5 separate regions of the Homo sapiens genome follow, and regions 1, 3, 4 and 5 are each linked to region 2. Evidence: promoter capture Hi-C in 16 types of primary human blood cells and fetal thymus (Javierre and others, 2016). All regions are on one chromosome and are shown on one strand. The core of a region is centred on a gene start or on the middle of the fragment in contact, and the rest is flanking DNA. Distances in the headings are between cores, read along the strand shown.

What was found. Contacts are between HindIII fragments. The CHiCAGO score rates a contact against its expected background, and 5 or more counts as called.
Region 1: a contact is called between a fragment that was not itself captured here and the fragment with the promoter of C1QB in region 2, in 1 of 17 cell types (endothelial precursors). The highest score is 6.7, in endothelial precursors.
Region 3: a contact is called between a fragment that was not itself captured here and the fragment with the promoter of C1QB in region 2, in 2 of 17 cell types (erythroblasts and endothelial precursors). The highest score is 8.0, in erythroblasts.
Region 4: a contact is called between a fragment that was not itself captured here and the fragment with the promoter of C1QB in region 2, in 1 of 17 cell types (erythroblasts). The highest score is 5.2, in erythroblasts.
Region 5: a fragment that was not itself captured here is called in contact with the fragment with the promoter of C1QB in region 2 in 1 of 17 cell types (erythroblasts); the score reaches 5.5 in erythroblasts.

Annotation. Positions count from the first base shown.
Region 1 is chr1:22,951,213-22,955,503 of GRCh38, forward strand. LACTBL1 (lactamase beta like 1) reads right to left here. Exons shown (of 8, transcript NM_001289974.2): 7 at 4,109-4,214; 8 at 1,831-2,812. The coding sequence ends at 1,831. Among named protein-coding and RNA genes, the nearest start is that of LACTBL1, 20 kb to the right of the region's middle. The HindIII fragment of the contact is 6,484 bases long and covers 1-4,291 here.
Region 2 is chr1:22,651,510-22,656,136 of GRCh38, forward strand. It overlaps C1QB (complement C1q B chain), which reads left to right and starts at 1,727. Exons shown (of 3, transcript NM_001378156.1): 1 at 1,727-1,794. The HindIII fragment of the contact is 5,474 bases long and covers 1-2,182 here.
Region 3 is chr1:22,394,044-22,398,359 of GRCh38, forward strand. No RefSeq gene overlaps it. Among named protein-coding and RNA genes, the nearest start is that of ZBTB40, 56 kb to the right of the region's middle. The HindIII fragment of the contact is 4,522 bases long and covers 691-4,316 here.
Region 4 is chr1:22,201,222-22,205,715 of GRCh38, forward strand. No RefSeq gene overlaps it. Among named protein-coding and RNA genes, the nearest start is that of WNT4, 60 kb to the left of the region's middle. The HindIII fragment of the contact is 1,616 bases long and covers 838-2,453 here.
Region 5 is chr1:22,376,574-22,380,897 of GRCh38, forward strand. No RefSeq gene overlaps it. Among named protein-coding and RNA genes, the nearest start is that of ZBTB40, 73 kb to the right of the region's middle. The HindIII fragment of the contact is 639 bases long and covers 1,326-1,964 here.

The sequences.
Region 1 (4,291 bases), core at 966-3,465, 300 kb after region 2:
GGAAGCTGAGGCAGGACAATGGCATGAACCTGGGAGGCGGAGCTTGCAGTGAGCTGAGATCACACCACTGCAATCCAGCCTGGGTAACAGAGTGAGACTCCGTCTAAAAAAAAAACAAAAAAAGAATATAAAATGATACACATATTTTGGAAAACTGTGTAGCAGTCACACCTAGATAGCTACCCGAGAGAAATGAAAGCATGTATTGACACACAGACTTGTATAGGAATGCTTTTTCATAATGGCCCTAATCTGGAGACAACCCAAATGTTCACCAACAGAGAAATGGATAAACAAATTGTGGCATATATGAGCAATAGAATAAAAACAATAAACTATTGGCTGGGCGTGGTGGCTCACACCTGTAATCCCAGCAGTGTGGGAGGCCAAGGCAGGCAGATCACAAGGCCAAGAGATCGAGACCAGCCTGGCTAACATGGTGAAACCCCGTCTCTACTAAAAATACAAAAACTAGCTGGGCGTGGTGGTGCGCGCCTGTAGTCCCAGCTACTCTCGGGGCTGAGGCAGGGGAATTGCTTGAACCAGGGTGGCGGAGGTTGCAGTGAGCCGAGATCGCGCCACTGCACTCCAGCCTGGGCGACAGAGTGAGACTCCCTCAAAAAAAAAACAAAAACAAAAACAAAAGCAATAAACTATTGATACACACACAGACATGAATGAACCTCAAAACCAGCGTGGTGAGCAAAAGAAGACAGACACAAAAGACTCCACCATATGGTTCCATTTGTATGAAATTCTAGAACAGGCAAAGCTAATCTATAGTGACAGGAAGCAGATCGGTAGTTGCCTGAGGCTAGGGGAGAAAGAGAACTGACTCCAAAGGAGTAGGGGGAAATCTTGGGGGTGATGAAATTTTCTATATCTTGATTGTGGTGGTGGGTATAAATATTTGTCAAAATCACCCAATGGTACTCCAGACATGTGTATTTCATTTTATGTAAGTTATAATTCAATAAGGTTGATTTTCATTTTTATTTTTTTGACAGGGTATTGCTCTGTCACTCATGCTGGAGTGCAGTGGCACGAACACGAGTCACTGCAGCTTCCAACTCCTAGACTCAAGTGATCCTCCTGCCTCAGCCTCCTGAGTAGCTGGGACTACAGGACACCACACCCAGCTAATTTTTATTTTATTTCTGTAGAGATGGGGGTCTCACCATGTTGCCCAGGCTTAGGTTGATTTTTTTTTTTTTTGAGATGGAGTCCCACTCTGTTGCCCAGGCTGGAGGCAATGGCGCAATCTTGGCTCACTGCAACCTCCGCCTTCCAGGTTCAAGCGTTTCTCCTGTCTCAGCCTCCCCATTAGCTGGGATTACAGGCACCCTCCACCATGCCTGGCTAATTTTTGTATTTTTAGTACAGCCGGGGTTTCACCATGTTGGCCTGGCTGGTCTCGAACTCCTGACCTCAAGTGATCCGCCCGCCAAGGCCTCCCAAAGTGCTGGGATTACAGGCGTGAGCCACCGCGCCCAGTTGCTTAGGTTTATTTTTAAAAGACAAAATACAAGCCCATATTTTGTTTTAGATTCAACAGGCACAAAACTACTGTTTCGATGCTTAAATTTTTGGTTGCCTGTTAGTTTCTAAATGCTTACTCTTAATGCCTGTACTTAATCCTTCCTCCCCTATAGATGTGGAGAAATTTGAATTTCTGGCTGTGGTCCAAGACCACACTTTGAGTAGCATCACCCTACTCCACTTTGCCAACTACCCGGGTTCTCCAACAGGCATTCCCACAGGCTCCCCTTCCAAACCTTACTCTAGAAAGCTGGGAGGCCAGGGACAGGGGGGTCCAGGCAGAGCCCGGGGTCACTGGGTCTTGAACACCGGCTTGCCCCGCAGCCGCAGCACTCTGTACGTGTTGAGGCCGGGCACGTCGAAGCCGGGTGACAGCCCGTGGTGATCCAAGGGGTAGAAGTTGACCAGCTGCCCGTGCTGGGCCTCGAGCGAGAGCCACGCGTCGCCGAGTGGCAGTGCGCAGGGGAACTCGTGGGCCACGTGCAGCTGGAAGACGCGGCCGTGCAGGTGGCGCAGCGCCAGGGTGCGGAACGCTGGAGGCACCAGCGCCTCCACGCGCGGCCCGAACTGGCGCAGGCGCAGCTCGCCCGCCGGCCCGGCGCGCACCTCGTAGAAGGTCAGGTTGGCGAAGGTGAAGTAGCCGGCGAAGGGGTGCGCGGTGGGCGGCGGAGCCGGGCCGGGCTCGGCCTCCCGGAGGGCGCGCTCCAGGGCGGGCAGGAGCTCATCGTAGGCCCGCGCCACCAGGTCGGGCCCGGGCGGCCGTGGCCCTGCCAGCAGCAGCACCAGGCCCAGACGCAGCGGGGGCACCAGCGAGAAGGTGGCGGCGTAGCCGTCCAGATCGCCGTCCTTGCGCACCACGCGGTAGCCCCGCTGCGCGTGGAACTCCCACGGCGTGCCCGTCTCGTTGGCGAAGTAGGCGCCCGGGCAGGCCAGCAGCGGCGCCAGCAGCGTCTTGGCCGCGTCGGGCCGCAGGAGCCGCCGGGGCCCGCCGCCCAGGAGCGCCACGGCCAGCTTGGCCAGGTCGGCGGCGGTAGAGTACATCTGGCCCGACGGCCGGTACCAGCCCAGGTCATAGAGTGGCGCCGGCCGCCCGCTGCCGTAGAAGCCCGCGGCCAGGCGCGCGCGCACGTCGGGCGTGAGGTCAAAGCCCGTGTCTGCCATCCCCAGCGGCTCCAGCACGTTCTCCGAGACCCAGCGCTGGTAGTCGCCCTGGGCGGTGTGAGCTGCCAGGACGTGGGCCAGGAGCGAGAAGGCCAGCGTGCTGTAATGGCATCTGGAAGGAGAGCAGTGGCAAGTGGGACGGGGCCCTTCCTCACCCGCCCGCGCTGTCTGAAATGCCACCAGTTTCATGGGACTGGGCGGGGCTGGGAAGGAACCTGCTCCCCTGCATCCCAGGTGGTCAGACCTGGAAGAGACTTTGGAGCACTGACTCTGACTCTCTTCTACATCTGGGAAGACCAAGGCCCAGAGAGGGGCGGGGAATTGCCCAGGGTCATACAGCAGGATGGAGGAGAGCTGAGCTCAGCGGTGCACCTGGGAAAGCTGTCACACAAATCTTATTGGTCCTTCACACTTTAGTATGATTTACCTTATCTAATGGAAAATTAAAGGCTTACACTGCTCTGGGGAAACAAAAATGATAGTGACCATGTATGAGGCAAGGTCTCACCCCTCCCTTCTTCCAGGCTGTAGCAGACACCAGTAACCAGCAAGAGGCCTCTTTTCTTTCCCAGAGCAAATACAGTTTCAGAATCTCTAAAACAGAAAGGTGCAAGGATGTGTGAAAATTCACAAATTCTCCTAGGCATTCCTGAACTCTGGGCCAACTTCCTTATTTTTGCAGATGAGGAAGATTAGTTAGATGAGTTTCACAGAGATAAAGTGCACCACCCAAGGTCACATTGCCATAGTTATTTGCAGAGCTGAGAGGAGGACTCCAGCCTGAAGATGTCCAAGCATCTCCTCTCTCTGCATCTCCTGGATCATTTCTTCCTTAAGGGAAGTGGGGCCTGAGGTTCAGCATTTGGAGAAGCAGAGGGACAAATTTGGAAAAGGGTCACTGACCAGCGGCTCAGAAGGGGGCCCCTGAAGCTGGGGAGTGCCAGCTGTCCTCTGTCCAGCCCCACAGCCCCACTGCTCCCAGAGTGGGGCTTCTCTGTTCAGTGGCCACCCAGCTATCCACTCCCCATCTGGTCAGCAACCCGTTTATTTCCAACCTGGCAAAATCTGTATTCACCTTGCTTATTTGCTCACGGTGTCTCCCTCACAAGAGTGCAAACTCCACGAGGAGCAAACCGGGTGTTTATCACCTTCTGGGCAAAGTAGGTGCTCAATAAATGTTAAGTGGGTAAATGGAAAAAACATTCCATTCAAACAGAACAGGATTCTGGGCCCAGCTCTCCCCTGTCTTGCTGGCCTCCCCTCTCTAGGTCTTGCCCTTTGCAGCTGGGGAGCAGGTCTCTCCCGGCTCTGCCAACCTAGGATGAGGTGATGTGGGCTCTTTGCCAGGCAGGTGTGTCTCCCCAGGAGGCTCCTAACATGAGGCTGGGCATCAGGGTATGCTCCTCACCTGGTTCCCGGGTCCACTACCAGCACATCGTCCTTGAGCAGGTTCAGGGCCTCCTGGGTGCTGCCCTTCCACAGCAGTGAAGTGGAGCGCAGCCTTCTGGGCAGCCCTAGGGAGGAGCAGTGGTCAGACTTACCGGGCCCGGCTGAGGGTGGGATGGTGGGCCCCTGGGTGCACTCCCTCCCC
Region 2 (4,627 bases), core at 477-2,976:
CTTGAGGTCAGGAGTTTGAGACCGGCCTGGCCAACATGGTGAAACCCTGTATCTACTAAAAAAAAATACAAAAATTAGCTGGGCTTGGTGGCATGCACCTGTAGTCCCAGCTACCTGGGAGGCTGAGGCAGGAGAATCGCTTGAACTTGGGAGGAAGAGGTTCTAGTGAGCTGAGGTCGCACCACTGCACTCCAGCCTGAGCAACAGACTGAGACTCCATCTCAAGAAAAAAAAAAAAAAAAAGAACTAGAGGCCCAGAGCCACTCGGCTTTGGGAATGCTCAGAAGCCCTCAACTTGCAACCTACTAACTCGTTTCTCCCTTTGTGGAATCCAGTGTTTCTTCTCTTCACCCTAGCCTGGGTCCCTTCGGGACTATAGTTGACTGAGCTCAGAGACCTTTTGGTTTTATCAAACTTATCTTTCCCTCCTGTTCACCCATTGCAGTTAACACTTAATTTCCACCAAGCTGCATCCACAAGCCCAGTGAATTTCCATCTCCAAGCACAGATGTCAAGAGGGCCTCCAGCTCCTGGTGCTTGCTAGTCATCATGTCGTCTGAGACGCAGCCACAGGGAGAGACTGATATCCTAGTGCCAGGGATGCCGGCTTCCAGGTCTGCATCTGCCACCTCCATGAGGCATCGGCCCCAGCAGTCACGTCTTTCTGTGACATTTATCACAGAAGCAATGAAGCCTCATGTCATTCCGTGTTTAACACCAGTCTCCCCCCGTAGAAGGGAGGCCCCATGGGGGCAGGGACCATGGCTGATTTGCTAAGAGCTCTCTCTTCAGTGCACATGGAAGCAAACACTAAATATTTGTTAAATGGTGGGTCTCCCCTCTGGGCCTCAGTTTCCTCGTATATAAAATGAGGAGGATGGGCCGAGTAACCTCAGCCCCTCTCCGGCCCTAACTTGGCGTGATTCCAGGATCGAGAAGAAGCAACAGGCCCCTGCCTGGGCCTATTATTGTCATCAGCGTCCAGCCCTGCTGGAAGCAGAGGGAGGGGTATCAATAAATAATGAACACATTTAAAATTCATTATGAGATTATTTTCTGAGAACAGGGAAAGAGCAGGGGCACAGAATGGGAAGGAAGCAGAAGAGATGAGCCCAGAAAGGGGAAGCCTGGGACATGAAGTGATATTAACAATGAACACGTGCACAGCCCTTTACAGTTTACCCCCAGACACTTCCTCCCCCATCATTTCCTCCATTATCCTCCCAGTGGCCTGTGAGATCTGTATCTGTAGAGCAGGTACAATTATGGTCCCATCCTATAGCAGAGAAAATTGGGGCTCCCTTGACTGACAACACATCAACTGGCAAGTGGCAGAGGCGGGATTGGAATCAAAGGCTCTGACTGTAAGCCAGCACTCAGGCAGCGGGCCCGCCACATGATGCTCACTGAGGAACACCCCTGCCCAGTGTAGAAGAAGATCACGAGGTCAGAGAGCCTGGGAGGGTGAGCTGTGGATGTTCCCCCAGGACAGCGTGTTCTCCCCACAGCTGCTGAGTTGGCAGAACCAAACTTGCCACCCACCCGTCTCATTTACAGTAAATCCAGTGGGTTGCAGAAATAGGACCTGAAACTGCCTGAGGGCAGCAGGGTGGGGGGACAGTGAGGGGACGGGAAAGGGGCCAGCCTGCTGGTCCATGGGAGGGGACCGTCAGGGGAAAGCCCTTCCCGCCTCTGGGGAAGGGAACTTCCGCTTCGGACCGAGGGCAGTAGGCTCTCGGCTCCTGGTCCCACTGCTGCTCAGCCCAGTGGCCTCACAGGACACCAGCTTCCCAGGTGAGGACGGGGCTTGGCGCCTGGGGGAGGCTGGCAGGGCCAATATGGCAGAAAGTGGTGATTCCGTAAGTGTGAGCTTTGCGTCACCTGCCTCGGAGCCAGTTAGGCTGTTTAACAGTGCAGGTAGCTGGGCCCAATCCCAGACCTATGGGACCCAGATCTCTGGGGTGAGTTGGGGAGTCTGCTGCTACCCAGGGCCTAGCGGATGGGCAGGCCACCTAAAGCGGGAGCCTGGCACATAGGAGCTTTGGCATCGCAGAGACTTGAGCTGAGTCTGGCTCTGCACCTTATGTATTGGTTATCTTGGGCAAGTCACCTAACCTCTCTCAGCCCGGCCCCCCTACAGAGAACAGAATCTTTCAGCACTGCTGTGCCTTACAGGAGATCAAGCTTGCAAAAGCTTAGTGCATGCCCTGGCTCAAAATTTATCAGTAAACCAGAGGCAGGAGTGGGATTATAAGCCAGTCGCTCCTGCCCGGCCCAGCATTTCCCCAACACCTTGCTTATTTCCTCATACTCGCTGAGAAAGCTCAGCTTGACTCTTCCAAAGAAATAAGGGGATGTGCAGGTAGAGTTACGATGAGTTCTCAGCTAGTACTGAGTGAGCGCAATGTTTGTGCAGCTGGGGAGTGGGATGTGGCACTGCACGGGGCAGGGGGGACCTTATTTCTTCTAAGCGCCTTCTCCTGTCATCCTTCTGGCAGCCCTGTCAGGTTGAAATCAGCATTGCCAAGAGGCTCAGAGAGGTTAAGGCACTTGCCTGAGGTTATGCAGCCGGTAGCAGATGGGGCTTTAAAGTCAAGTGGGCCTGACTCCATGTTGCGGAAAGGGACTGCTGGACCGAAGGAGATGGAAAGGTCAGAGCCTGGGGGGAGGACAGGAGAAACCGCGCTGGCAATGATGATGGGCTGGCACAGGCAGGAGGCAGTTAAACCAGATGAGTTGTAAGCCCTAACCCAAGGCTGAAACTCGGTGGCTTTTGAAATGGGCTAGAACCAGCACTTTCCCACTCCCCCTGCCCCTGGCTTCCCCAGGAAGCCCAAGTCCTGTCAGTACCCTGCTCCCCACCCTCTCTCCCCACCAACTGGTCACAGCTCTCCACCCCTTGCTGCCTCCAACTGACAGAGCCCCTCCCTCTAAACACAGTCTTTCAAAGGGATTGTCTTTTTTTACTTCTCCAACCATCTTCCCTTCTGTTCAACCACTCAGGAATTCTTGGATGACAGTGATAATAATAAAATAGCTAATATTCATTAAGAATTTCCAACATGCCAGGCTCTGTTGGAAGCTGTAACTCATGTCCTCGCACATACCCTATGAGGGAGAGAGTAGCATTATCCCCACTTTATAGGAGGGTAAACTGTGGCCAGAGAGAAGGAGTGATTTCCCAAGTCCCTTAGCTAAGAAGCAGTAGAGACCTTATGTGAACGCTGAGTGTTGCTTTCCTTGTGACACTACAGGCTCCCGCCACCAGGTGAATGTGTGCTGCCTAACAAGAGCAGCAATCATCGTGGTGGTAAAAAGCCACTTTCACCGAACACTGACCATGTGCCTACCACTACCCTTGGTGTGTCCCATGCATTAGTCCTTTTATCAGGCTGTCTGGCTTCAAAGTTTATGTTTTTACCACCAGGTACAGTGGCCTCTTAACATAACATTGAGTTTTAAGATCCAGTGGATGTGGGTTTGACTCCCAGCCACACAGGAGCTGTGTGACTTTTATCAAGGTGCTTGCCCTCTCTGATCCCGTTGCCTCATCTGTAAAATAAGAAAGCAAGAGTGCATTCTCAGGGGCTGAATATCAAATTACAGGGGATAATGGCATGCAAGCCATCTGGCTCAGAGCCTGGCCTATACGTACCCAACTTATTAAAGTTGTTAAATTGCCATTTTGTAAAACCTTTAGCAAGAGCAAGAGTGAGAGCTGATGCTTATTCATGGATAAGCAGGACCATGCCCCTGAGCCACCCTGTCTTCAGAGCATAGAGCCTGACAGAACCTAAAGCTGTCACCAGCATTCCCTGGCCACACTCATCTTTACAGCTTCCTTTCCTTGGTGCACAGTGTCTGGCATAACTCAGGGCTTTCAGCAAGAAATTGATCAGGACTAGGCTGAGGGGCTGAGGCTGGTTTGCAGAGCATAGGAGCCAAATATCAGTAGGCCTTGTCTGGTCCCAGGGAGCCCTCCACATGCCAGACTCTGGGGTTGGGACAGCCAGCATGTGGCAGAGAGGGTAGGAGTTTGGCCACAACCCTGCTGTTAGAATAGTTTGCTGGGTGATTTTTGGGTAGGTTGCTTTCTAAGTTCCGATCCTCAGTTTCCTCATCTGCAAGATGGGAAATTAATCACAACCCACTTCCCCAGGGTGTTGAGAGGATCAGAGAACAGCAGCAATAGCAGTAGCAGCCACAAGTCCCAATGAGAGCTTGGGGCTCAAGGCTTTATGACTCTTTCCCATCCATGGTCTCACCTGGGTCCCTGTGGCCACTCTGGGAAGTAGGCAGAGACCACTCTGCTCCCCCATTTTAAGAGAGGATACAGTTCAGCCTCTGAGGAAAGGTTTCCTGGAGGAAGAAGGCTTTGACCCAAGCTTCGAATGAAGAAAAAACATTTGGATCTGGGCAAAGGTGGAATGGGCTGCCTCGAGAGGTAATGAGCTGCCCATCACTGAAACGGTGCAAACTATGGATGGAAGAGCCCTTGGCAGAGATGTCATTTCCTCACACTCTGCTGAGAAAGTTCAGCTTGACTCTTCCAAGGAAATAATGTGATGTGCAGCTAGCGTTGTGATTAGTTCTTAGGGCTGAGTGAACACAACGTTTGTGCAGCAGG
Region 3 (4,316 bases), core at 1,702-4,201, 260 kb before region 2:
TAATCCCGGCTACTTGGGAGGCTGAGGCAGGAGAATCACTTGAACCTGGAAGACAGAGGTTGCGGTGAGCCGAGATCACACCATTGCATTCCAGCCTGGGCAACAAGAGTGAAACCCCATAAAAGAAAAGGAAGGAAGGGAGGGAGGGAGGGAGAAAGAGAGTGAGAAAGAGAACAAGAAAGGGGAAGGAAGGAAGGGAGGAAAGAAAGAAAAAGAAAGAAAGAAAGAAAGAAAGAAAGAAAGAAAGAAAGAAAGAAAGAAAGAGAAAGAAAGAAAGAAAAAGGGAGGAAGGGAAGGGAGAGAAAGGAAGGGAAGGGAGGGGAGGGGAGGGAAGGGGAAGGGAGGAGCAGAACTGTGAATACATGCATTTACATGGCAATAGGGACTTTTCAGATGTGATTAAGGACCTTGATATGGGTAGAGTACCCTGGATTATCCAGATGGACCCAATCTAATCATATGAGTTCTTATAATTGGAGAGCCATTTCAAGGAGTGGTCAAAGGGAGATGGGACTAAGGAAGGCCAGTCAGAGAGATGCAGTAGCGCTGGCTTTGTTGACAGAAGATGGGGACCGTGAGCCAAGGCCTTCTAGGATCTGGGAAGGACAAATAAACGAATTCTCTCACAGAGCCTCCAGAAAGGGATGCAGCCTGCTGATGCCTTGTTTTAGCCCAGTGAGATCCACATGAAGCTTCTAACCTACAGGATTGTAAGATACATTTATGCTACTTTAAGCCGCTAGGTTTGTGGTAATCTACTACAACAGCAATTGAAAACTAAAACAGTTAGGTTTTCAGTTACTTGTAACCAAAAGCATCCTGTTTACATCATAACTCCACTTATTAACATAGCTAACAGTCTTTTTCAAATGTATTATTATTATTATTTTGGAGACAAGGTCTTGCTCTATTGCCCAGGCTGGAGTACAGCTGAAGTGTGATCATAGCTCACTGCAGCCTCAAACTTCAGGGCTCAGGCAATCCTCCTGCCTCAGCCTCCTGAGTAGCTGGGATTGCAGGCACAAACCACCATACTTGGCTGTAGCTAACAGTTATTAAGCAGGTCTTCTCTTTCAGTATGTTGCTAAATGCATTATGCATTCTATCTAATTTAATCACCACAATAATTCTATATTGTTGAAACTATTAGTCCCATTCTAAATATAAGAAAAACTGAGTCTCAGAGAGGTGAAATCACATAACTAGTGAGTGAGGAGCCTGGATTTGAATTGAAGTTTGCTTGACCCCAAAGCCTGTCCACTTTTCTCTACATCCTGCCGCTAGCTCTCAGTTCACCCCTCTGTGGTGAAGGCTGGCTCTTCTGTATCCCAGGAAAGGAAAGTGGTTCTAGCTGCCCAAAGGACAGTAGAGAAATGCCAGTGTTTCCAAATCTGCATGTCAATGCTCACCTTAACTTTGAGGCTTGCCCTCACCCACACGCTCCTCTTCTCTACTCCACCGACAGTGCTGTCATTTAAAAATCACCTTCCTTATAGAAGAAATGTCATTATGTTCACAAAATCTAAAACACCCAAAGAGAAGATAAAGAATTCCACCCTTTCAGATATGTGACCTACATCAGTGTTTCTTAAACTTTTGTCTGTGTGGGGTGTGTGCGGGGGGTGTGTGTATGTGTATGTGTGTTTTATTAGAGACAGAGTCTAGCTCTGTCACTGGGGCTGAAGTGCAGTGGCATGATCATAGCTCACAGCAGCCTCAAACTCCTGGCCTCAAGTGATCCTCCCTCCTCAGCCTCCCAAAGTGTTGGGATTACAGGCGTGAGCCATCGTGCCCGGCCATTTCTTACACTTTAATAAGCACACGAATCACCTGGCAGGCCTGAGCATCTAACCAGTTCCCAGCTGATGCTAATGCTGTGTTTTCTCCATCCACACTTTGAGTAGGGAGAGTCTACACAACAGCAAATCAATGAGCATCTGGAAATTTGGAAGTTGCCAGGGGTTGGCTGGCTGTCATGGGGCTCCATTGCTTGTGGGTGTGCCACGGAAACATAAATCCCAGAAGAGAACTCTCATATCTCCGAAAGCTCCCATTTAATTCTCAATTGTTGGTCATTCTCCACCCCTCTTTCTGTCACCCTTCCCCCACATGCAATGCATCAGCAAACCCATCAGCTCCATCTTCAAAATATATCTGAAATCTGACCACATCTCGCCCTTCTGCACCACACTCCTTATGATGAAGTCCAAGCCACCATCACCTCTCATCTGCAAGATTACAACTGCCCCTTCCTGGGCTCCCCACTTGCATCCTCGCCTCGCTACAGTTCATCTTCCATACAGCAGCCAGAGGGATTTTTAAAAAGGAACATGAGATCTCTTTCTTACCTTGCTCAAATACGCCAGGAGAGCAAAACTTCAAGTCCTCACCGAGGCCTACGAGGCCCTATGGGATCTGGTTGTTCTGTCACTCTAACCTTACGTCCTACAACTTTCCCCTTTGCTCCTTTCACACCAACTGCACTGGCCCCCTTGCTGCTCCCCATACATGCCCAGCACATTTTTGCCTCAGGGCCTTTGCACTTGTTATACTCTCAGAGAGCCCCAGGGTTCACTCACTTTCTGAGCTCTGATCACTTTAAAATATGGCCTCTCAGAGAACCCATCTCTGACTATCCTGTCCAAAATTGTACTCCCTGCCCTGCCACTCTGTCCCCTGTCCTTGATGTTTTTTTCAAGCACTAATTACTTCCTGACATTGTGTTTTACATAATTTGGTTATGTGACCCTGCTCCCCGTAGAAAGTAGGCTGTCCGTGGACAGAGACTCTCTCTGTCTCGTTTCATCTCTGTGTCTATAGAGCATAGAACAGTGCCTGGCACATAGCAGGGGTTCAGTAAATATTTGCTGAATGAATGAATATTGTTTTGCATAGGATGTATTTGTACACACACCAGGGCTTTTCACCTAGATGATGTTCTTATTGAGGGAAAGCATTGTAAACCCCTAAAGCACTTCCCAAGGAGGCATCCAAATTGTCTTGAACAATTGCAGTTTTCTTGGTATAAACTGGAAATTGAATGTCCACAGCAAGTACACAGCATCCTTGCTTCCATTCTTCTCTTCTGCTCACATGACACACATTATTTATAGATCATGGTAAACAAGTTTTCCCCCAGTGAGGGTTTGAAATCTTGGACAGGTGAGGTGCTGGTGGGGCAGCCCTCATCACAGAAAGCACCCTGGCCATGGAGGTCTGGATATTTTCCCTTGACATGACTTGCAGCTGGAAAAGACCACAAATGTGACAGAGGACAGAATGCCCAGAGGGCTGGGACTAAGCAGCTGAAATTGACAAAAACGAAGTCCAAGCAAGGTCAATGTTGTCCTTCGTTCAACCTCCTGAAAAAACCAAGCATCACCATTTGCCCTGTGGAGATAATATAAAGTGTGGTAGAGATGCATGTCTCAAGCTCTTTTTCACAATCTTCTTTGTATTGGTGAAAACTGGAAACAGGAAGGTGTTGGAGCCAAATCTCATAGGTCTTCATGATGAACTACTAAAGGCAGATTCTCAACCTTGGCACTATCCACATTTAGGGCCAGTAATTTGTTGTTTTGGGGGCTGTTTTGTGTATCATAGGACGTTTAGTAGCCAGTAGCGATGCCCCTCACCCCACCCGTTGTAACAACCAAACATGTCTCCAGCCATTGCCAACTGTCCCCTGGGGGGCCGAATCGCCTCTGGCTGAGAACCATGACTGTTACTTCAAGAAGAATAATGCTTCTTAATACCATGGGAAATGCTTATGCTGTTAGGCTGAGTTAAGGAAAAAGGTGCAAAATGTGTTTTCAACTATATTCATATGAATATAAACAGTGACATAGAAGAAATTTAGGAAGAAATATGCCAAGACGTTAACAGTGATCTCTGGGTGGTGGAATGATGAAAGATTTTGCCTTACTTCTTTATTTTTGCTTTTATACGTTCCTTCATTTGTTCAACAAATATTTATTGAGCACCTACTACATGTCAGGTGTTGTTTTAGGACCTAGGGAGAAGCTGTGTAAGATAGACATTCCTGTGGCTGTGTACAAGACAGACATACCCATGAGGGGACAGGCATTATATAGGACTCTGCCCTCACAGAATTGATGATGTTCTATGGAAGGATACACATGAACCCCATAGCCTGTAAAGAACAATACTCTGGGGCTGGGCGCGGTGGCTCACACCTGTAATAGCACCTCGGGAGGCCGAGGCAGGTTGATCACTTGAGCCCAGGAGTTCAAGACCAGCCTGGGCAACATGGCAAAACCCTGTCTCTACTAAAAATATAAAAATTAGCCAGATGT
Region 4 (4,494 bases), core at 396-2,895, 450 kb before region 2:
TATTATTAATTATGTTGTTATTATTAATGCTATTAACCACGTGGTTACCCTCCTTTTAATTTCAGCTGCATTTCTACACATTAGAGAAGCAATTGAGAATAGGTGGTCAGATGGTCTGGATTTGAGTCCCAGCTTTCTCATTTACTATCTGCATGACATTAGACAAGTGACATAAACTTGCACAGTACAGGTACCTACTTTGTGGAGTTAATATATGGATTTAGTGAGTTGCATATGTAAAGTACTTAGAAAAATGCTTGCCAAAGCCTGTTGGCTATTATTATTATTATTTTTATTTTTTGAGATGGAGTTTCATTCTTGTTGCCCAGGCTGGAGTGCAATGGGCAATGGCGTGATCTCGGCTCACTGTAACCTCTGCCTCCCGAGTTCAAGCGATTCTCCTGCCTCAGCCTCCCAAGTAGCTGGGATTACAGGCATACACCACCACGCCTGGCTGACATTATATTTTTAGTAGAGATGGGGTTTCTCCATGTTGGTCAGGCTGGTCTCGAACTCCCAACCTCAGGTGATCCACCCACCTCAGCCTCCCAAAGTGCTGGGATTACAGGTGTGAGCCACCGTGCCTAGCTGCTATTATTATTATTGTTATTATTATCATTATTTCTGGAGTCCAGCTTCTCAAGGCCCAGTCTCTAGCTGGGTCACTCAGAGACTGTTGGATGACACAGACCCGGGATGCACAGTCTAGGGAAGCAGCATGCAGCTGGTGGGTAATCTGACCATTAGGGCTGCCCTAGAGCCTGTCCAGGAGGTAGTGTGCCCTCTGTCACTGGAGGTGTTTAAGCAGAAGCTGCAGGTTTGGCTGGATGATCCAGAAGCTTCTCTGTAGGTGGAGACTCTGGGAAGTATTAGCGGGGGTCAGAGAGGATGGAGCTCAAGGTTCTGAGAAGGTGCTTTAGAAAAATGCTTGGGAGCTGGGCGTGGTGGTCCACGCCTGTAAACCCAGAACTTGGGGAGGCTGAGGTGGATGGATCACCTGAGGTCAGGAGTTCGAGACCAGCCTGGCCAACATGGTGAAACCCCATCTCTACTAAAAATACAAAAATTAGCTGGGTGTGGTGGTGTGCACCTGTAGTCCCAGCTACCCTACTCAGGAGGCTGAGGCAGGAGAATTGCTGAAACCCAGGAGGCGGAGGTTGCAGTGAGTCGAGATCGCACCACTGCACTCCAGCTTGGGCGATACAGTGAGACTCCTTCTCAAAAAACAAAACAAAACAAAAAAGGATAAAGAAAAATGCTTGGGACTGGCTCAGACTCCCTTTCCCAGCTTTAATTAGAGCCATTCCACTTGTATCTGTTTTATATTTTGAAAATCCAGAGAGAATTTTTTTTGGGGGGGGTAGTGGGGAAAGGGGTCCTGCCACTAGGAACTATTTGAAAGCCTCATAGTCCACTCTGCATCACTTTTTTTTTTAACAGAAGGGGAAAACTGAGGCTCAGAGAGAGAAAGTTATTTACTGAGGTCCTGCAGCAAGTCTGAGGGAAGAACTGTTCTGAATCTGGGACTCCTAATGCCTAGTCCAGTGCTGGCTTGATTCCAACCTCCAGGGTCTTCCTGTGGCTGCCACCCCCAGCCTAGGATGGGTACGCTGCCCTCAGCCCCCTCCTTGGTTGGTGACATTGGCCCTGGCATCACTTGAGCTCAGCCCCCTGGAGTGGAATCTGCACAGGCTGCTCTCCCTAGGCTGAAGTGTTAACTTCAGCCCCTCACCTTGGACTCAGCTTATCTGGGCTCTCAGGAGCTACAGTGTCCCCATGGTGACACGAGGAGCCTATGCCATCCACTGAGGTTATATTCAGTCATTTATTCATCCAATTAACAAGTATTTATTGAGCTTCTACTATATGCAGGATATAGTGCTAAGTTCTGGGAAGATGGTGTTGTGTGATTTAAATGAGTCCCTGCCCGCATGCATCTTAGTTACAGTCTAGTAGGGATGGTGGACAAATAAACAGTTGATTCCATTTGAAGATTGGTTTAGTCAGGGTAGGCCAAGTGTTGTAACAAACAATCCTAAAATTTCAGGAGCTCAATACAAAGTGGGATTTCTGGGCAGGTGGCTTTCTTCAGCTGCCCTCATCTAAGTGATTCAGGGATTTAGGCTCCTTCTGTTGGTGGCTCTGCCCTTCTGCAGATCCTCAGAATCCTCTCCATTCAGCTGGAAGATGGGGACAATGAGCAAGCATGCAGGATCTTGTGGGAAGTCAAGGCCAGGCCTGGAATGGTATCCATCACTTCTGACCTTCTTCCATTGGCCAGAATTCAACAACATGGCCCCACCAACTCCAAAGGAGGCTGGGAAATGTAGTCTAGCTGTGTGACTGGGAAGAGAGGGAGATGTGGTTTGTTGAGCACACTGTAGTCTGTGCCAAAAGTGTGATCACTTCTAAGTTAGAGATAAGCTAGAAGTATTGTGGGGGCACCTCAGAAAAGCTTTGTAGGGTAGGTGACATCCGACCTGAGACCTGGAGAATGAATAGGAGTTGGCCAGGGGAAGAGGAGGGAGAGAAGTGTTCTTGCATAGGAGAAGGCTGAGCGTGATGTGTTAGGAGAACTAGAAGAGATATTCAATCTTGCTAGAGCTGAGCCTGGTGGCTGGGGAGGGCAGTGAGCCATGAGGCTGGACCAACAGTGGGATCTAGGCTTGAATGATTGTGACAATCAGGACATGGGAGCCAGGAAAGGGGAATGACACAGTCAGATCAGCCACTGAGATAGATCTCTTTTGCTTCTGAGTAGAGGATGGACCAGAGGGTCAAGAGGTGGGAAGCTGCTGGAGTCTCCAGGTCGTGGGTGATGTGGCTAGACTGGGGAATGGTTGTGGTGTGGGAAGGAAACAATGCTATATAGAAGGAAGAAGAGAGAGGACCTGGTGATCCATCAGATGAAGGGGTGATGAGGAAGTCTCAAGGACACTGCTGAGCTTATGTAGTTACAACTTGGCTGGTTCCACCAGAGTGGTTGGCCACATCTGACCCACTAGCTGTTTTGTAAATAAAGTTTTACTGGAACACGGACATGGCCATTCATGTATGCATTGTCTACAGCTGGTTTTATGCTGCGGCAGCACTTGTTTGTTGTGACAGAGACTGTATGGTCCTCAAAGCCTAAAATATTTACCATCTTGCCCTTTACAGATCAGTTTGCTGACTCTTGAGCTGAACAGTTTTTTATTTCAGTAAATTTATTAGAATGAGTTAAAATAGTATTATGCTTAGGCTGTCATTGCTTCATTCATTCATCTTCTATTTCCTGGCCCTCTTTGATGGTGCTGGCCCTGCCTGCCTGAGTCCAAATAACTGTTCTGGTTGCTGCGGGCAGCAGTCTTAGAGGCAGATGCCTGCTTCTGCACCAGGGCGCATGCCTGTGGTGGGATCTGTAGCACACCTGGCTGATGCTGTTGCTGGCCGAGATGTGGGGCCAGCCTGAGCCAAGCTGGCTTCTGGGGCTGGGTTGTTCGGGTCTTCTGGGGTGATCGCGTTTCCACGAAGTGATTCTCAGACATGGTGTCGTTTACTCCTAATGACAGTCCCTGGGGGTCAACATTACCATGCCTCCATTGCGTGGATAGGAAACCAAGACTTGGAGAGATACTTGCTCAAGGCAAAAGGGCAGATGCAGACAGAGCTCTTCTGGGTCTGAGATGAAGATCCAGGAAAGGTGGTCTCAAGTCCTTCTCCCCCGAAGACCCAGGGCGCAGGACAAGAGTGTCCACTGCACCAGGACTCCTGGACCTCCCAGCCATCTGGCACCTCCTCTGTGTTGGTCCCAACCAGGGGTTACAGATGTGAGCTGGACAGTGTGGGAATGCAGCTTCGCAACAGTAATTAGTTTATTCCTGAGGTCAGCAGTCTAAATAGTAGAAAAATGTATTTCCTGTTCCAAGCCAAATAAGCAAGTGGCAGCCAGTTGGCCAGGTGCCACTGATGGGATTCCACCCGTGCATGTGCCTTGCCTTTGGCCACGAGTTTGGGCGGGAAAGCAGGAGAAAGATTGTCCCTTCACAGGTCCCGTCCTGCCCTTGACTGAGGACTTACTGGGAAGATTCCCACAGCTCAGGATCCTCCCAGGTAGTTCCAGGTTCCTGCTGTGACCGTGACCACTGAAGGGTGATGGATGTGCCAAGAAGGGCAGCGCCAAGGCAGGCTTTTCCCACTGGCACTCGCTCCATGTGCCTGGCACAGCTCCTGGCACGTGGGTGATGATCAAGAGATTCGTGAATGCACGAATGAATGGGATGGTGCCAGCTTTTCAAGTGGAAGGAACTGGATGTGTAGCAGAGGCCACATCAGTGGATGAGGGGGCAGAGCCGTTGTTTCGTTTTTGGGGTTTATTGAGGACATCAGAAACCACAGCCTTGGACCATTCCATTTGGTGCTGAAATAACCAGATGGCTGGATCCACCTTAGGCAAAGTGCTCCTGAATATATGGAGTTTTTTCAGGTATTCGGATGCTTCTTCTGTAATAGGTA
Region 5 (4,324 bases), core at 395-2,894, 280 kb before region 2:
ATTTAGGAGCAAATGAAAGGGTAATGAAAGAGTTTTATCTTCTTAGTGCTAGCACGCTGATGTGGTCTGAATGTTTCTCGCCTCCAAATCTGATATTGAAATTCGATTCTCAGTGTTGGAGGTGGGGCCTAGTGGAAGGTGATTGGATCATGGGGGCGGATCCCTCATGACTGGTTTAGTGCCATCCACTTGGTGACAAGTGAGTTCTCGGTCTGAGTTCACAAGAGATCTGGTTGTTTGAAAGTGCAGCATCTGCCCCGTCACTCTGTTGCTCATGCTCCAGCTATGGGATACACCTGCTCGGCCTTCACCTTCTGCCATGATTGGAAGCTTCCTGAGGCCCTCACCAAAGGCAGGTGCTGGCACCATGCTTCCTGTACAGCCTGCAGTACCATGAGCCAATTAAACCTCTTTTCTTTATAAATCACCCAGTCTCGGGTATTGAATAGCAATGCAAGAACGGCCTAATACACACACCAAGTTTCCTTGGGGAACTAACCCTCCTCCATGCTCAGTATGTGTGATTCACTGGGGTTGACACCATCACCCCAGAACCAGGCCTGCCAGTCAGATCCCTGATTCCTCTAACCACAGTGATTGGCTCACAGATGAGCATGTGACTCAGGCTAGGCCAATATGAGGCCTCTGGAATTTTTGCTGGAGCTCCTGGGAAAGAGGCCTCTTCCTTGAGCAGAGGTGGCTAAGCTGATAGGACATAGGCCTGCAGCTGCTGGTGGGCAACTTTACAAGCAAAGGAAAACACAAAAAACCTGCCTACGAGTGAAGCCAACACAGAAGAAAGCAGAGCCAAAGGCTGTAGGGAGAGTTTCTTGACAATAACATCTGAGCGCCTAGATCCAGCCCTGACTGAAGCTGTCCTCTCCTTTGGACATGTCAGATAAAAGTATTAATAAATTTCTTTTTCCGCTTGAATCAATTTGAGTTGTGTTTCTGCCACTTATAATAAAAGAATCCTGATGAATACAGTCCAGAAATACAGACTGCTGCAAACAGACTGGGTGATTAAACAAATGAATTAATAAGTGAATAAGTACATGAGTTAATAAAGGAGAAAGAAAACAGCGAGTGAGTGAATGACTGATTCAGGGAGTGAGTGAGTGAAATATGTATGCTAGGAAACAAGCCACTCTTGTCCTCTAGGCCTCAGGTACCAAAGCCTTCTGTTCCAGAAAGGCCTCCTCTATGGCTCCAGGTTTCAGGAGGTCCCTGAGTAGCCTGTGGTATTTTGTTAGGGAGGATTTGGCAGTGTGTCTCAGAGGGCATCCAAATATCTTGGGCAAGTCACTTAACCATTGGAGAGCCTAAGCTTCCTCGTCTATGAAATGGGGATAAGAAGTCTTCTCTTCCAGGGCTATCATGATGGTTAAATGAAGTAATGCACATAAAGCACTTAGCACAGGGCTTGTGCTTGAAAGCCATTTCACAAGCAATAGCACGATTATCGTTCCTGTTATTAGGCTTTCAGGCCCAGCTCATTTCTGCCCCCTCCAGGGAGTTTCCCTTGACCATCTGCACCCCTATCAGCTGCCTTCTTTTGTAGCAGAATTGACCCGTTTGCCAAGCACTTGGACACTGTCTCCTCCAGGAGTCTTGCTCAAACTTTGGGACATCGGAAACCCCAAGGGGAATGTGTTACAAATGCAGACTCCTAGACCCACCTCCTGAGGACCCTTGCCAGAGGCCTGCTGTGGGGCCCAGGAACCTGCATTTTCACCAACTCCCACACCCTGAGATGATTCTGAAGCAAGACCGTACCTGGAGAACACTCATATGTGCATCATCGCATTTTATAGATGGGGAAACTGAGGTTCAGAGGAGAACACAGATTGGCCCAAAGTCACATAGTGATTCACTGGCAGAGTTGGGCTTGCACAAGAATTTGTGCCTTGTGGACCTGGGCTGGTTCCGCCCTGCTGTGGAGGGGCTCCCTCTCTTCAGACTGAAGCTTTCCTACAGCCCCTCAGCATGCCTTTCACCACTGGGTGCTCCAATTCTGGCCTGCCTCTTGCTTCCAGAACATATGTCCACCAGGGCCCTGAACCTAGTTGGTGCTCAACAAATATCTTCCAGATGATGGGCATGACTCAGGCAGGGCCAACATATTTAGCAGATTTTTTGACAGACAGGTTGGGAATGGCATGAATGACCTGGCCATGGGAGTGATGGAATCTCCAAAATGGCACTAGGAAAAAACCGTCATGCCTTGATGGGTCCCAAAATGTATATAGTTTTTCTTGGTTTTTCTTTTCTCTTGACAGAGATGCTGAATAAACCTGCTAGAATGTAAACTCCAGCAAACGGGAGTTGCCTGGACTTTACCCTCCCCCTGCCTGGCATGCTGTAGGTGCTCAATAAGTGTTGCTGAGAGGAAGGATATGAGCTGTGGACTCTGCTTCCCACTCTAAGTAGTTTGTTCTCACTGTAGATGGTCTGATGGTAACAAAAGTGTTATGTCCCCTGGAGGTGTCCCTGCTCCCCTCCCACAACCCCTCCCAACCCCTCCAGCTGTGGAGAAGGCGGAGATGGAGAATCACGAGTTGGTCCCAGTTCCCATTCTTGGGCCATCTTCTGCAGCTCCGTGTATCTATGGGATGGAGTGTGGGTGGGAAGAAGGCTGATGCTGAAATCGCCACTGCACCGCCAGGCCTGCCATCCCCTCTGGCTGCCCGGCCTTCCTCCATTAGCACTTTGGCGCTGCAGCCCTTGGCTGAGCCCAGACTGGATTTGATTGATTCTTTATGGGCTGCAGATTCGATACCCATGCAGAGCACATGTGGAGGATAAGCCAGGGAGGAGGCGGGGGAGAGAGTTGAGGCCAGGGAGAACCTGGGGGGTCAGACCCTAACCTTTGCAAGACATGGGGCTTCCCCAGGCCTGGCCCAGACCAGGACGCCCCTTCCTGCTGCACCCTCATGCCAATGACTCTGGTTTCTAGAATTGCCCTGAAGTTCATTTCCCAGCAATGTCTGATCAAATAGGGATGTCCAAGGGCAGGCTCTTCAGATGGGACAAGCCCGGGCTAAACGTCCTCCCCAAAAAATGCAATGTGAGCATTGTTCATCTGTTATTGATTGGGAGACTGTGAGCTTTGCTTCCAAAATCTCCAATAAAACTGGCTTGGAAGAGAATTTCCTGAATCCCTGGGTAAGTGGATAAAGATGTTCCAGGAGTCTGGGGTGGTGCCGGTGGGGAAGCTCACACACCATGCACAGTTGGTTTTTCCCTTTGTTACTTAATGAAGAACAGAAAACAATCAGCCTCATCTCTCTGCATCCAGAGTCGGCTCCCTTCTTCCTTTGAGTTAATTTCCGGTTGGAGGCTGGTGCCTGCTTAGCCGGAGGGCCCCCGGGAATCTGCTCCTCTTCTCTTTTGGGTTGGGGGCTGGAGGCGGCTCATTCTTCTGGGCATCCCGTGGTAGGGGTCTTGCACCTGCGTGTGGCATTAGGCGGGTAGGGGGTTTTGAGGGAGCACAATAGAGCATTTGGGAGCTGGCTCAGTTGCTGGAGCAGCCTAGGTTACAGAGAGATGCAGCCAGCTCTGAGGTCCTGTCTCAGCCGTGACCAGCCTTGTGACCTTGGGCAAGGGACTTCAATTTCTGGGCCTCAGTTTCTTCATCTGTGAAATGGGCATCATTTCAACCCCTGCTTCAAAGGGTTATGATAAGGACTCGAGGAGGCTATGGATGTAAGGCACTTGTGTGGTGCTGGTGCAGAGCAAGCACTCAATACATGTGGGTTGTTAGTCCTATTCGCTCCTGACATCAGCAGCTGGGACTCCGCTGACTTCATGGTGAGCCCCAGAGACAAGAGAGATGGGATCACCCTTTCCTTGGACTGTTCCTCCCCTTCCTCCACCCCCACCACAGCCCCCTGGGTCACGGCCGGAAGGATGAGGACAGGCTATCTGAGTCAGAGTGTGTGTCATCTGGGAGTGGGGGGTGGGGTGCCCCTCCATGGGAGAAGAGCCTGAGGCAGGCCAGGAGCTAGAGACCTCAGCCCAAGCCAGGGTGTGGCTGGAGAGGTCAACTTTTGGCCTCATGACTCCACTGTGTGGAGAAAAGAGGCTTGGGCAGCCTCCCGCCTCCAACATCACTGATCTGGGCTTCCTTAGCCCTCACAGCAGGTGAGGAAGGTGCCCCCTACAGGTGGTCTCTTCCCCTGAGCACCTCTGGGGCTTCGAACTCTGAATGCCTCATCCCCCAGGTGAGGAGGTTGATTTTTGCCTTGTGAATCTCAAAGGGTTGTTAGACAGCTCCAATCATGGCAGGGCTCAGAGAACTGGACTGAGATCTGAGCCACCTGGA